2 separate regions of the Homo sapiens genome follow, and region 1 is linked to region 2. The links are contacts of gene promoters, found by promoter capture Hi-C in human tissues and cell types (Jung and others, 2019). All regions are on one chromosome and are shown on one strand. Each heading gives the region's core, a stretch centred on a gene start or on the middle of the fragment in contact. The rest is flanking DNA. Distances are from core to core; before and after follow the strand shown. Region 1 holds the start of NUDT9 (nudix hydrolase 9). Region 2 holds the start of SPP1 (secreted phosphoprotein 1).

The links. Contacts are between HindIII fragments. The study calls those that stand out against the background at their distance.
Region 1: the fragment with the promoter of NUDT9 here is called in contact with the fragment with the promoter of SPP1 in region 2 in 2 of the 25 tissues and cell types used here (adrenal gland and heart left ventricle).

Annotation. Positions count from the first base shown.
Region 1 is chr4:87,418,301-87,424,875 of GRCh38, forward strand. It overlaps NUDT9 (nudix hydrolase 9), which reads left to right and starts at 4,273. Exons shown (of 8, transcript NM_024047.5): 1 at 4,273-4,712. The coding sequence starts at 4,606. RefSeq lists enhancers at 4,042-4,091, 4,161-5,095, 5,639-6,142, 6,143-6,575. The HindIII fragment of the contact is 9,950 bases long and covers 342-6,575 here.
Region 2 is chr4:87,972,696-87,978,898 of GRCh38, forward strand. SPP1 (secreted phosphoprotein 1) reads left to right here and starts at 3,019. Exons shown (of 7, transcript NM_001040058.2): 1 at 3,019-3,105; 2 at 4,187-4,254; 3 at 4,364-4,402. The coding sequence starts at 4,201. LOC124900730 (a long non-coding RNA gene) reads right to left here and starts at 1,074. Exons shown (of 2, transcript XR_007058172.1): 1 at 944-1,074. RefSeq lists promoters at 773-3,015, 2,015-3,102, 2,892-3,105, cis regulatory regions at 2,025-2,034, 2,250-2,258, 2,325-2,333, 2,771-2,786, 2,961-2,970 and 1 more and enhancers at 2,277-2,297, 2,660-3,159, 2,922-2,992. The HindIII fragment of the contact is 7,576 bases long and covers 145-6,203 here.

The DNA.
Region 1 (6,575 bases), core at 3,023-5,522, 550 kb before region 2:
GAAAGGAATGCATTCCTGGCGGGAGGTCTATAAATGGCCGTTCTGGGAATGTCTGTCCTATGCGGTTGAGATAAGGACTGAGATACGCCTTGGTCTCTGGCAGTATCCTCAGGCTTACTAGGATTGGGAAACTCCTTCCTGGTGAATTTTTGGTCAGACTGGTTCTCTGCTCTCGAACCCTGTTTTCTGTTAAGATATTTATCAAGGCAATATGTGCACTGCTGAACATAGACCATTAACAGGAGTTCTGATTTTGCCCTTGTCCTGTTTCCTCAGAAGCATGTGATCTTTGTTCTGCCTTTTGCCCTTTGAAGCATGTGATCTTTGTGACATACTCCCTGTTCATACACCCCCTCCCTTTTTGAAATCCTTAATAAAAACTTGCTGGTTTTGCGGCTCAGGTGGGCATCATGGTCCTACCGACATGTGATGTCACCCCCGGCAGCCCAGCTGTAAAATTCCTCTCTTTGTACTCTTTCTCTTTATTTCTCAGCTGTCTGACACTTATGGAAAATAGAAACAATCTACGTTGAAATATTGGGGGTGAGTTCCCCCAATAGAAAAGAGGTTTAATTGGCTCACGGTTCTGCAGGCTGTACAGGAAGCATGGTGCTGGGCATCTGCTTGGCTCCTGGTGAGGCCTGAGAAAGCCTACAATCATGGTGGAAGGCAAAGGGGAGCTGACATTTTGGCGAGAGTGGGAGCAAGAAAGAGGTGGACAAGGTGTCATACATCTTTAAACAACCAGATCTTGCATGAACTCACTATCACAAGGATAGCACTATCACAAGGGATCCACCCTCATGACCCAAACACCTCCCACCAGACCTCACCTCCAACACTGGGGAATACATTTCAACATGAGATTGGAGGGGAGAAATATCCAAACTATATCAGGGAAATAGTTGGGATTCTGAATTACTCTTACTTTTAACATACTCATCAATTCTAATAATCACATATGTCACTTTCCTATTTAAAAATTCTCATTTCTCAGTGTTCTTGGTCTGTCTCACCAACTATTGCAAGATGCCCTTGAAGTTGGTATATGCTTCATAAATTTTTAAAAAGTCCTTACTTCTCCTTAAATTCTGATGACATCTGTTTAACTAATTTAGGATGTGGGTAATTTGATGAGGAGATGTTTTGTTTCTACCCAAGAGCAGGTTGCAGAACATGCACTCACTACACCTGAGCAGATGTGCAGTATGCATCCCTGAAGGGAGGAACCCAGGAGATCTGGCTGTCCCAGCTAATTGCAGTTTTGTTTCAGTGCCATGGAATTGGTTTTGTTTGTACAGTTGTTTGCACAGGTTCATCAAACTAAGTTCACGCTAGCCTCCCCTTAGGGAATATGGAGTTATAAGACTAGGGTCTGAGGAGCTTCCTGTGAGAACTACTTTCTGTTGCTCCCTTTCTTTGATTGTTGACTTTGTAACTCACTGCTTTTCTCCTGTCTTCTCTAGTGACTAATTTGTCAACAGACTTTGGACACGCTGAACTTGATGAACAGAGCCGGTCTAATACATTTCCAGTTTAAGCAGTGATTAACAACACTGAGAGCAAAGTTTATCTGACCAGAGGAAGCCGAGTACTGATATTTATCTTTAAAATGCACATTTCAATAATAGTACTTCTCAACCTGAGAAAGCAGTCAAAATAAACAAAGCTGGACACTAGTTAAAGCAGTAAGGACAGACTTTATTCAGTGATGCTAGTCCAATAGGGAAAAGAGTGTAATACAAACTAATCCCACACTTCCCTGAAACAAAAGGCTGTGGTATGCAAAAAGGAAAGGCACAAAAGGATCTTAAGTTTTGGGGGGTGGCAGGGGGGCACGGTGGTTTGTTGATTGATGTGATTAGGCCATTTGGGTTTGTTAACTGGCTCTTATCCAGAGGAGAAACAAACTTCTATCTTTATGATAGGAGGCAGTGGTGCTAGCTAAAGCAAGGTACCGGTCTTGTACAGGGACTAGGAGCTAGGGTGAGTTATCTTTCTGAATATTTGCATTTCAAAGAGATGGCTCCCAAGTCTTTGAGGAAACTGTGTTGGGTGGTAGACTTACATCACCAAGGGTAGAGAAACAAGCTTTCTAAAGTGACTGCTCTAAGAAGGGGTTCAGGGACCTATCTGCCTATCATCAAGTTTTGGCTGGAACAAACAGTAAATTCTCCAGGCATTGAGTTTTGATTTCAGGGAAGCATTTTAACGGGATCTGGGGTCAGCCTAGGGACAAGGCCTTAAGCTACTGGAAGCTATGCTAGAGTATAATCAAATCTCTCAGTGCCGAGAAAAGAACTTTTATATGAGGAAGGTAAATCCTTTTAAATTACCAGGCCCAGAGAGACATTAAAATGAGACAGCAATTACATCCTACTCCCCACTTTGTTATGCATTCATCTCTTTAAACTGCTTACTATAGCCACAAGTAGCTAAAAATTAACCTAATAATGGTACACTGGACACTGTAACTCGCACCCTATAGCTTAACGTATAGCCAACCACTAACCAATACTATTTCTACAAACCAGTAATTCTTTACAACTTTGTATCAGTCAACTCCCTGTCCCCTTTTTGCCTTTAAAAACCTGATTGTAACAAAGGTGGACAGGAGTTCACATTTAAGGTTACTTGGGTCTGGGTCTTCTGGGCAGCTGTCCTCACTTTGGCTAAAGTAAATGCTTTAAGTTCTATCTCGTGCCTCAGCGTCTAGGTTGACAGTGTAGTTTGAACAGTCAATACCTGTCGAGAGTTCTGCAGTTTTCAGAACAATGGTTGTTAAAATTCGATTAATCTGGCTTTTAAGATGGTCAAAGTTTTGTAACGTCGGTGTATTGGAACCACACCACAGAAACAGCGGATCATGTAAGTAAAAGTCAAATAGTTGCCACATCAATAAGCTAATATAAATGAAGTAAGCCTGATTACAAGCTGCTTTGGACAGTCTGGGTTTCCAACTTTGTTTGTCGGTTTGTTTAATTTTTGCCTCTCAAGTTTATTATCCAGTATTATGTGTGTTGCCCTCTGTTCCTCCTCCAGCATGTGTGCCTATTTTCACAGCTTTTCTCCTCCACGAGTTTCCAAGGGCCACAACTGGTCCTAGCAAAGCCTTGTGAATGAAATCCAGCAATTGGAGCAGACAACTTGGTTAAGAAAACAAAAACAAAAAACCAAGAAACCCTTCAAGATACGAGGGCTGAGTCTCTGGACTATCTCCTCTTGCTGTAACCGCCCAAGGGGTTCACCTTTCCCGCTTCCTAGACAGAGCTGATTCATCAAGACAGGGGAATTGCAATAGAGAAAGAGTAATTCATGCAGAGCCAGCTGTGTGAGACCGGAGTTCTATTATTACTCAAATCAGTCTCCCTGAGCATTCAGGGAGCAGAGGTTTTTTCTTTTTTTTTTTGATACGTAGTTTCACTCTTGTCGCCCAGGGTGGAGTGCAGTGGTGCGACGTTGGCTCACTGCAACCTCCACCTCCCGGGTTCAAGCGATTCTCCTGCTTCATCCTCCTGAGCAGCTGGGACTACAGGCGCGTTTACCACCATGCCCAGCTAATTTTTGTATTTTTAGTAGAGACGAGGTTTCACCACGTTGGCCAGGCTGGTCTTGAACTCCTGACTGCAAGTGATCCCGCCTCGGCCTCCCAAATCAGTCATAATTTTGCAAAGGCGGTTTCATTCCCATAACGAAGTATTATTCAAAAATATGGCTAAGACCTGCGTCCTTCCGCAACAACTTACTCCCTAAAAAAACCAGAGCAGGGCCAGGCGCGTTGGCTGAGGCCTGTAACCTCAGCACTGTGGGAGGCCCAAACAGTTGGATTATTTGAGCTTGAGAGTTGGAGACCAGCCTGGGCAACATGGCAAAAATCTGTCGCTACAAAACATACAAAAATTAGCCAGGTATGGCGGTGTGTGCCTGTAGTCCCAGCTACGTCGGGGGCTGAGACAAGAGACTCGCTTAAGCCCAGGAGGTTGAGGCGGCAATGAGCTGAAATCGCGCCCCTGCACTGCAGCCTGGGCGACAGAGCCAGACTCTTGTCTCAAAAAACAAAAACCAAAAACCCAGGGCAGCAAGTCTCTCTCAAACCCCTTGGCTTCTTTCCCACTTATTCCCGTTCCAGTTCCTCGTCTGTTTCACCTTTCCTTTCCTCTGACACTTTCTTGGTAGTTCCCTGCGTCCCCAAGTAAGCCTGCGCAGACTGGGAAGTCTGGGAAGTCGGAGAAGGAAGGCGCTACCAAGCCGGCAACGCACGACCTTTGCTTTGCGGCGCGGCCGTAAAGCGCCATTACGCAGAGAGAAAGTTACGAGGTTCGTGGCCGCGGTTTCCCCAGGCAGCTGGCGCTGGAGGCTTCGGCGTCACGTGCTGGTCTGGATTTTTCTCGATGCACTGGGGAAAGCGGTGGACTCTTATCGTGGGAGGGCTCTTGATCTGTGATTTATAGATAGGCACAGCTACTCCCGTTCGGGAACCCAACGGCAGACAGGTCCTAGTGCCCATCAGATACCCGCGGCCGGGACTCGGAGCTGTGGGGTGTGGGGAGGCGGAGGCACCAACTAAGAGCGACCTAGCATCGCAAAGCCGCCCTCGGGGCGCTCATGGCGGGACGCCTCCTGGGAAAGGCTTTAGCCGCGGTGTCTCTCTCTCTGGCCTTGGCCTCTGTGACTATCAGGTCCTCGCGCTGCCGCGGCATCCAGGCGTTCAGGTATTCCACCCTCCTACTACCGGCTCCTTTGCCCTAGACCTTGAGTTGGGGGTGGGAAGCAGCTTTTTTTTCTGGCGTATTCTGTAGGCTTTGCTTTGCCTCTCGGGTTTTTATAGTCATATACAAGTTTTCAAAAAGGCTCTAAAATATTTTATCTGCCTTTTGAGGAAAACGAGTGGCAGGGACCCTTCTTGACTTCTGATTTTGAAATTTGCCATTCTCTGTAAATCATTGTTAGTATCACGAGAGAGTTTAAATAGCAATTGTTTGGGGTGGTGGTGTCCCGTGCCATTTTTTTATGGTTAATACTTAAAACATTATTATTAGTATTAATACATGTACATAGTTAAAACAACTTGAAAATGTAAAATGAAAAGTAAAATCACTATTCCCCCTGTCCCCTTTCCAGGGTGGACAATATATTATATTTACTATCTACCTCCTTTTTTTTAATAATTTGTCTATTGTGGTTAAATTTAGGGATTTATGGTGTCTTACACTGCCTCCTTCTGTTCTTCCCTTCTCCAGTTTTTATTCTTTGAGTTAGTAAACACAGGGTCCTAGGTGCAGCAGCCTTTTCTTATTTTATAGATATTAAAAGTCTTGAATCTACAAAGATGATAATTAGAAAAATCTATTTCCTAAATAATTTACTTACTGTTGGTCAATTGTTCTGTGTCTTTTTGGTCCTGTTTCCTTCTGTTGCTTTTTCTCGAACATGTGATGGGCACTGGTTATCTGTCTATATTTTGATTAATATGAGTAATAGGTCTTGTTTTCAGTACATGGGTCGCTAATTGACTTTTGGCTCTGTACCAGGTTGCCTAGATAGGAAGGTTTCAGTTGAGGGCATGTGAGCAGGTACCAGATGGGTAGACTGGGAACCTGCCTTTTGCTTCAGGCTTTGCAGTAGTGGTGGAGCAACTTCTCTGCTGAGTATAGCTGTTTATTTCCTCCGTGTGAACTGTAAAATTATTAAGCCTAAGTTTCTGCTGTGTACTCTTAACACCAGTATTCACAGTAGGGGTCCTACCCCTTCATTTCTAAAAAACTTTTGATTTTATCTTGGAGACAAACATAACTATTTTGGACTTTTTGCTTGGAGATTGGGGAGGGAGGAGGACTGAGTGATTTCCATGGTTATTGTCGCGCTGCCAGTTTATGATCCTTGGGCCCACTGACTTCAAGCTTGAAACCTCTAGCTCGGCTCAGCTTGTAGGAATAGCATTTCTCCCTAATGCGTTTTTTTTTTTTTTTTTTTTTTTGAGAAGGAGTTTCGCTCTGTCGCCCAGGCTGGAGCGCAGTGGCGCGATCTCGGCTCACTGCAACTTCCGCCTCCTGGGTTCAAGCGATTCTTCTGCCTCAGCCTCTTGAGTAGCTGAGATTACTGGCGCGCGCACGCCCGGCTAATTTTTTTTGTATTTTTAGTAGAGACAGGGTTTCACCATCTTGGTTAGGCTGATCTGGTCTTGAACTCTTGACCTCGTGATCCGCCCGTCTCGGCCTCCCAAAGTGCTGGGATTACAGGCGTGAGCCACCGCGCCCGGCCTTGGTGCATATTCTTATTTTACTTTGTCCTACTCTGGTTTGTAGGTCAATATTCCAACAACTTTTCATTTTCCTGAAGTTGGTTACCATCTGTCATTCACTGGTGGCATTTATTCCTTCTCCTGGTACGGATTTTATTTCCCTTTATCTATCTTTATCTTCTTTTAGTGGGATTTGAGGAAGGAAGGAATACACGTGTGTGCTCTCTGGAAATCTCTAATGCTCTTTTTGTTAGATGCCAGCAGAACAGTGTAAAGTTGCTTGACAGTTATTCTTCGTTTTTGTAACTCTGGGAACCCTACATGAGGCAGGTAT
Region 2 (6,203 bases), core at 1,769-4,268:
CTTTTCCCAGTCTATATATGATGAATGGTGCTAGGCTTCCGATTAGCTTTAATTCCAAACTTCTTTATGACAGATTAGTGGTGTTACCAAAATATCAGAGTCATGTCTGAACCTTGACTCAAGGGAAAAAAATAATTACCTGTGGAGCTGAAAACACTGAAATAGTTGGTTACACTTTACTAAGTAAAATATAATTAGAAATGTTCAAATAAACTGGAAGTGAGTTTAATAAAGTTGTCCACCAAAGTAGTGACATTGAACACTTACTTTTTATTATATGGGAATTTTCATGTAATTCAGGAAAAAGACCTTAAGGCTCTTTATTTGTTTCCATGTGTCCTCTTAGTGTGTATAATTTAAGATCACAAATTACTCTTTGCATTCTAGTTTGACAACTAAACTTTTTTTACTTTCCACTCACAAGATTTATAGGGAATTTGTGCATTTTGACCTTTTGATTCTAACAACCAATCATTAGCCAATCAAGAATGGAAACTTTGGAAATATTACAGATAGAGCCACTGTGATTTAAATCATTTAACATGTTAATTCTGACAGAAAATCCTACTCAGAAAAAACAACCAGCAGCAGCATGTTTGAGTGCAAACAGCAAGAAACATCCCAAAACATGACCTCCCCGATAGTCAGAATGACGCAGCATCCATTTCCTACTTTACAGAATTGCCTCCCATTATAAATCACTTTATCTTCTCAACTCCAAAGCATCCCAGACACATTCTTTACCCGTGAATTCACAAGCCTTTTCTCTGAGAGAGGCCTTGGGACTAGGAACTTTTTGAATGAGTGTAGAAGTCGGGAAGGAGACAATAGTGTCAACTTGGGATTGCCTAAGGCAACAACAGAGCAAAACAAGAACGCTTTGGTTCTCTGGGTCTCTGTCCCTGATTGCATAGCGGGTCATTGTTGGGAAATATTTCCTCACCTGGCATTCCAAGAAATGGAGAGCTCCACAGCTGTATATAGTCCTGTCATTAAATACAGGAGTGTTCTATCCCGCTGGAATTAAGAAAATTGGTAGAACCAGATTGTGGTCTGAAATCTTTTTTCAGAAATGCTGCCATCGTGTGGCACTGCGGAGCTATGACCAGAAGAGTCCTGTAAAGGGTCGTATGGTTCATCTCAAGATGGCTGGGCTCCAGCATAATCTATTCCTATAATTAATTCTAGCTTCATATTGAATCATTCCCGTGGGCACAGAGTAAACTACAGTAAATCCTGTGGAAATTTTGTTGTTTTTAGAATTTTCAGACTTCCCTCCACTAAATTGACAACATGACACGCTTATGCGGGTATGTTTAAAGGAAAAAAATAGTTTTTAGAAGCAGAAAAAAGAAGTCTATTTTGCAACTTTATAATCTGTGTGCTTTCTATTTTATAGAGATAGTCGTCATCTTACTTATTAAAATGGGTGCTTATTACCTACAAACCAATCATATCAATTCATCTGGAATACATCCAATTTAAGGGAGACATATTTCCCCCTACCAAATGTTCATGAAACCTATGAATTAGCTATACACTATCACTGCAAGACATTATTTAATCTATATTTATATTAAAAGTAATATTTGGCAAAAGGAAGCTGACACTTTAGGACTAATAAAAACCACAATTACTTTTGCAGCAACCTAATAATAAATAGGACCATTTATTTTTCATCTCAATTACACACAAGTCTTAACAATAAAGGTGTAAGGTAAATAAATAGTGCAATCTGCATTTCACAACTGAGAAAGCAAATGAAGATAAGTAATCTCAAGGCAATATTAAATATTTTAAAAGGACCCAGAGCTCTGCTATCCCTGAATTCTGCTCTAATATTCGGACTTTCCCTGTAATTTTCTTTCATTCAGACACCTTTTAAATACCTAGTAAAGTGTTTTTTAATACAGAAATTTTTAAAAATGTTTTTCTTTTTAAGTGGCCTACTTTACATACCTTGGGAGAAAAACTAGAAAAAAAGATGATTCCAAAATCGAATCTGTTCCTTTAGAAATGTGCAAAATTTCCTTATTGATGCATACAATTTAAAGATCTTACGTCTACTCTCATTTTAATAACCTGTTCTTTTAAAGGACATTACAATTCGTGACTGCCTGCCCCTCTTAAAAATTTCATAATAGTTAACACACATATAGTCCTTAAGATACGCAGAGCATTTGCATCTAATATGTGCTAAGCATTGCTAGTTTAACATACTAATTCATTTAAACCCCTCAAAAACCCCATGACCTAGGTAATAGTATTGCATTTCATGGATGAGGGAACAAGGATAGGTAGGCTGGGCGATTTGCCCAAGGTTGCACAGGTCAGCAGTGACACAGCGGAATTCAGAACCACGGTCTGGCTCCTGAAGCAGCCCTCTCAAGCAGTCATCCTGCTCTCAGTCAGAAACTGCTTTACTTCTGCAACATCTAGAATAAATTACCATTCTTCTATTTCATATAGAATTTTATATTTTAATGTCACTAGTGCCATTTGTCTAAGTAACAAGCTACTGCATACTCGAAATCACAAAGCTAAGCTTGAGTAGTAAAGGACAGAGGCAAGTTTTCTGAACTCCTTGCAGGCTTGAACAATAGCCTTCTGGCTCTTCAATAAGTACAATCATACAGGCAAGAGTGGTTGCAGATATTACCTTTATGTTACTTAAACCGAAAGAAACAAAAATCCATTCTATTTAATTTTACATTAATGTTTTTCCCTACTTTCTCCCTTTTTCATGGGATCCCTAAGTGCTCTTCCTGGATGCTGAATGCCCATCCCGTAAATGAAAAAGCTAGTTAATGATATTGTACATAAGTAATGTTTTAACTGTAGATTGTGTGTGTGCGTTTTTGTTTTTTTTTGTTTTAACCACAAAACCAGAGGGGGAAGTGTGGGAGCAGGTGGGCTGGGCAGTGGCAGAAAACCTCATGACACAATCTCTCCGCCTCCCTGTGTTGGTGGAGGATGTCTGCAGCAGCATTTAAATTCTGGGAGGGCTTGGTTGTCAGCAGCAGCAGGAGGAGGCAGAGCACAGCATCGTCGGGACCAGACTCGTCTCAGGCCAGTTGCAGCCTTCTCAGCCAAACGCCGACCAAGGTACAGCTTCAGTTTGCTACTGGGTTGTGCATTCAGCTGAATTTCATGGGGAAGTCCAAATTCTAAGGAAAAATATTTTTAATTGTAATGCTGTTAAACAGACTTAAATTTTCTAGCCTTTTTAATAAGCAGATTAGATACATTGCAGGTCTCCTGGAACAAAGGTGTCTAGATATTTTGAATGCCAATCAAATTTAAAACTTAAAAATACTTCCACTGGGTCCTCAAAAGAACGGAAACCACCGATGCTAATCAGAAAATAGTAAAATTAAATTCCCCTTTGGAATAATTATACCTATATAATTTTCAGTGGGTGACTGTGCAGGAATTTAAAAGAAAAGGGATCTTTTATGCTAATTAAACCAATTACAATGCTATTTTTTAAATGATGTATCTCACTTTTAAGGGGAAGAAAACCCTTTCTGAATATGCCACTGCTAAATTTAGCTGTTAAAATATTCACCAAGATACCTGTATGACACTGTGTAGGCTTATTATTACAAATAGAAAAGCTGTTGGCTATTTTCAATGTTTTCCTTTGAATTTCAAATTTTTAGAACATCTTACTTAAATAACAAATTTCAGAGATAGTTTGATTTCACCTAAGTAGCACCTACTTGATAATTAAGCTAAAAGTCACATTTAAAGTACATGTTGGAAAAATGGATAAAGCAAATTTTTTTCATTTTTTTCTGTGAGTTTTTTCTTCTCTAAAAAATATTCCCATACTAGCTTATTAATATAATTAAGTTACTGTTGATCTGTTTGTAGGTTTAGAGAGCTAGATATATAAGGTAGTAATGGTATAATTTCTGGAACTCTAAATTTTAAAGTTGAATAAATACAGACTTGCAAAATTTCCCTTTCCCTTGCCTAATAGTGAAAGATGGATAATAGGTGGCAATATAAATATTAACTTGAAAGACTATAATACTAAAAAGAAAAGGCATCTCTAAGAAGTAGAAAAGATTCTATAGAAAATATATTTTATTTGTGATCATTTTGTAATGTGGTAGTATAAAAAGGTATCACTGTTGTAACCTATGAAGATGTCAGCTATTCCTTATGAAATATTTTGCAGGAAAACTCACTACCATGAGAATTGCAGTGATTTGCTTTTGCCTCCTAGGCATCACCTGTGCCATACCAGTGAGTACAGTTGCATCTTAAAGAAAATTCCTGAAAATAACTGAATTGTGTGCTTCCATGTGCTAGGAGGACATTCTTGTAATCTTTCTTCATCTTTTCTGTTTCTAAGGTTAAACAGGCTGATTCTGGAAGTTCTGAGGAAAAGCAGGTAAGCATCTTTTATGTTTTTATATAGTTAAATCATTTACTCAATTATGGCGAGAGGTGCAAGAAACGTATTTGCTGCGATATTACTTATCTTCTCAGTCAAATCCATTGGTTTACAAGTATTGATTGACTGCCTGCTATGAATCTAGGCCAGTACCAAGCACAGTATAGTTTTTAATAAATATAAGTTTATAAAACCAACCCAGATATTTTAAATATAATAATATCTAGGCATGTATGATGAGTTATCGCATGTAAGATAAGTTATATGAAGTTGTGTGACTTTTTTTCCATTAGTCCACATACTGATCTAAAAGCAGAAAATTCCAGCTTTTGCTTTGTTTAGTGGATTGCTAAGTTTAAAATTCACATTGGATATTAGTCAGAACTGTTTGTATGACCATAATATTCACAATATTGTCTGAGATATTAGCTGAGAAGCCCATTGTGAAAAGAAAGTCTATGTGTGCTGTTTGTATCTATTGTGATTGTCAGCTGATGTTAGATCACATTTTCTAACCAAACATAAGACCAACCAAACTCTTTATTATAATTATTTGACCAGCACTAAAGATGTACCTACCCCTCCACAACAGATGAAACTGTGCCAGCCAAACAACAAATGGGCATTGTCCCCAGAAGCTTGGACAAAAAGGCACACAGAGTTCAATTCCAGTTGAACAGAATAAAGGCCAAAATAGAGCTGCCTTGGGGGTCACTGCAATTAGACTGCTTAATGAAGACATTAAAAGAAGTATTCTGTGTTCGTTTGTGTGTGGAGGGGTGTGTGTGTCTGTTTTTCAACTGATTTGAAAATACAGGTGTTGAATCCTAATAATAAACCAGAAAAATTAACATCTCCAGAGAAGATAGAGGTCATACTATTTGAGGCAAGAATTAGCGTCTTTTTAATAAACGAAAATATGGCAAAGATGCATTTTAGAAGGCACGTGGAGCTATAACAATTTAAGAAATACGTGAAGAGCTCAAGGCTCAGCCTTCTAGAATCCCAGAAACTTAAAGCTAGTAAAAAATTGGGGAAGTCTCTAAGGATATATGCCTGAAAATACACACTGGTTATCTGTGAGTGTTAGGATTACTGGGTGGTTTTTAGTCTATTCATTTTGCTTACCTTTATTTTCTTCATATTAGTTTTTAAAAATTATAAATGTAACTTATACATCCATTCTCTCTGAGCCTGTATTACATGTGTCATGAGAATAGATAGATAGATATGAAAAAGTGAAGAGAAAAACTCTGAACTCATCTGGTCTCACTGTTTTTCCGCCTTCTTTTTTTTTTTTTTTTTTTTTTTTTGAGACGGAGTCTCGCTCCGTCGCCCAGGCTGGAGTGCAGTGGTGTGATCTCGGCTCACTGCAAGCTCCGCCTCCCAGGTTCACCCCATTCTCCTGAGTAGCTGGGACTACAGGCGCCCGCCACCACGCCCGGATAATTTTTTGTATTTTTAGTAGAGACGGGGTTTCACCGTGTTAGCCAGGATGGTCTCCATCTCCTGACCTCGTGATCCACCCTCCTTGGCCTCCCAAAGTGCTGGGATTACAGGCGTGAGCCACTGCGCCCGGCTGTTTTTTCATCTTCTTAAAGCAAGGAACCCCTTCTTTCAGCAAAACCTTTCGGAGAAGCCCAATACTAAGCTCCTCTGGTTAGAGCCAGCCATGAGAGAAACTCCAAGTACTTCTGACTGGTTCTCTCTCTACTCATCCACCCCTTAGGTGGCTGCAGAAGGAACTCTGTGCAACCCCCAGAGTTCTCATTCTCAGTGACAGGGAAATGTAATGATT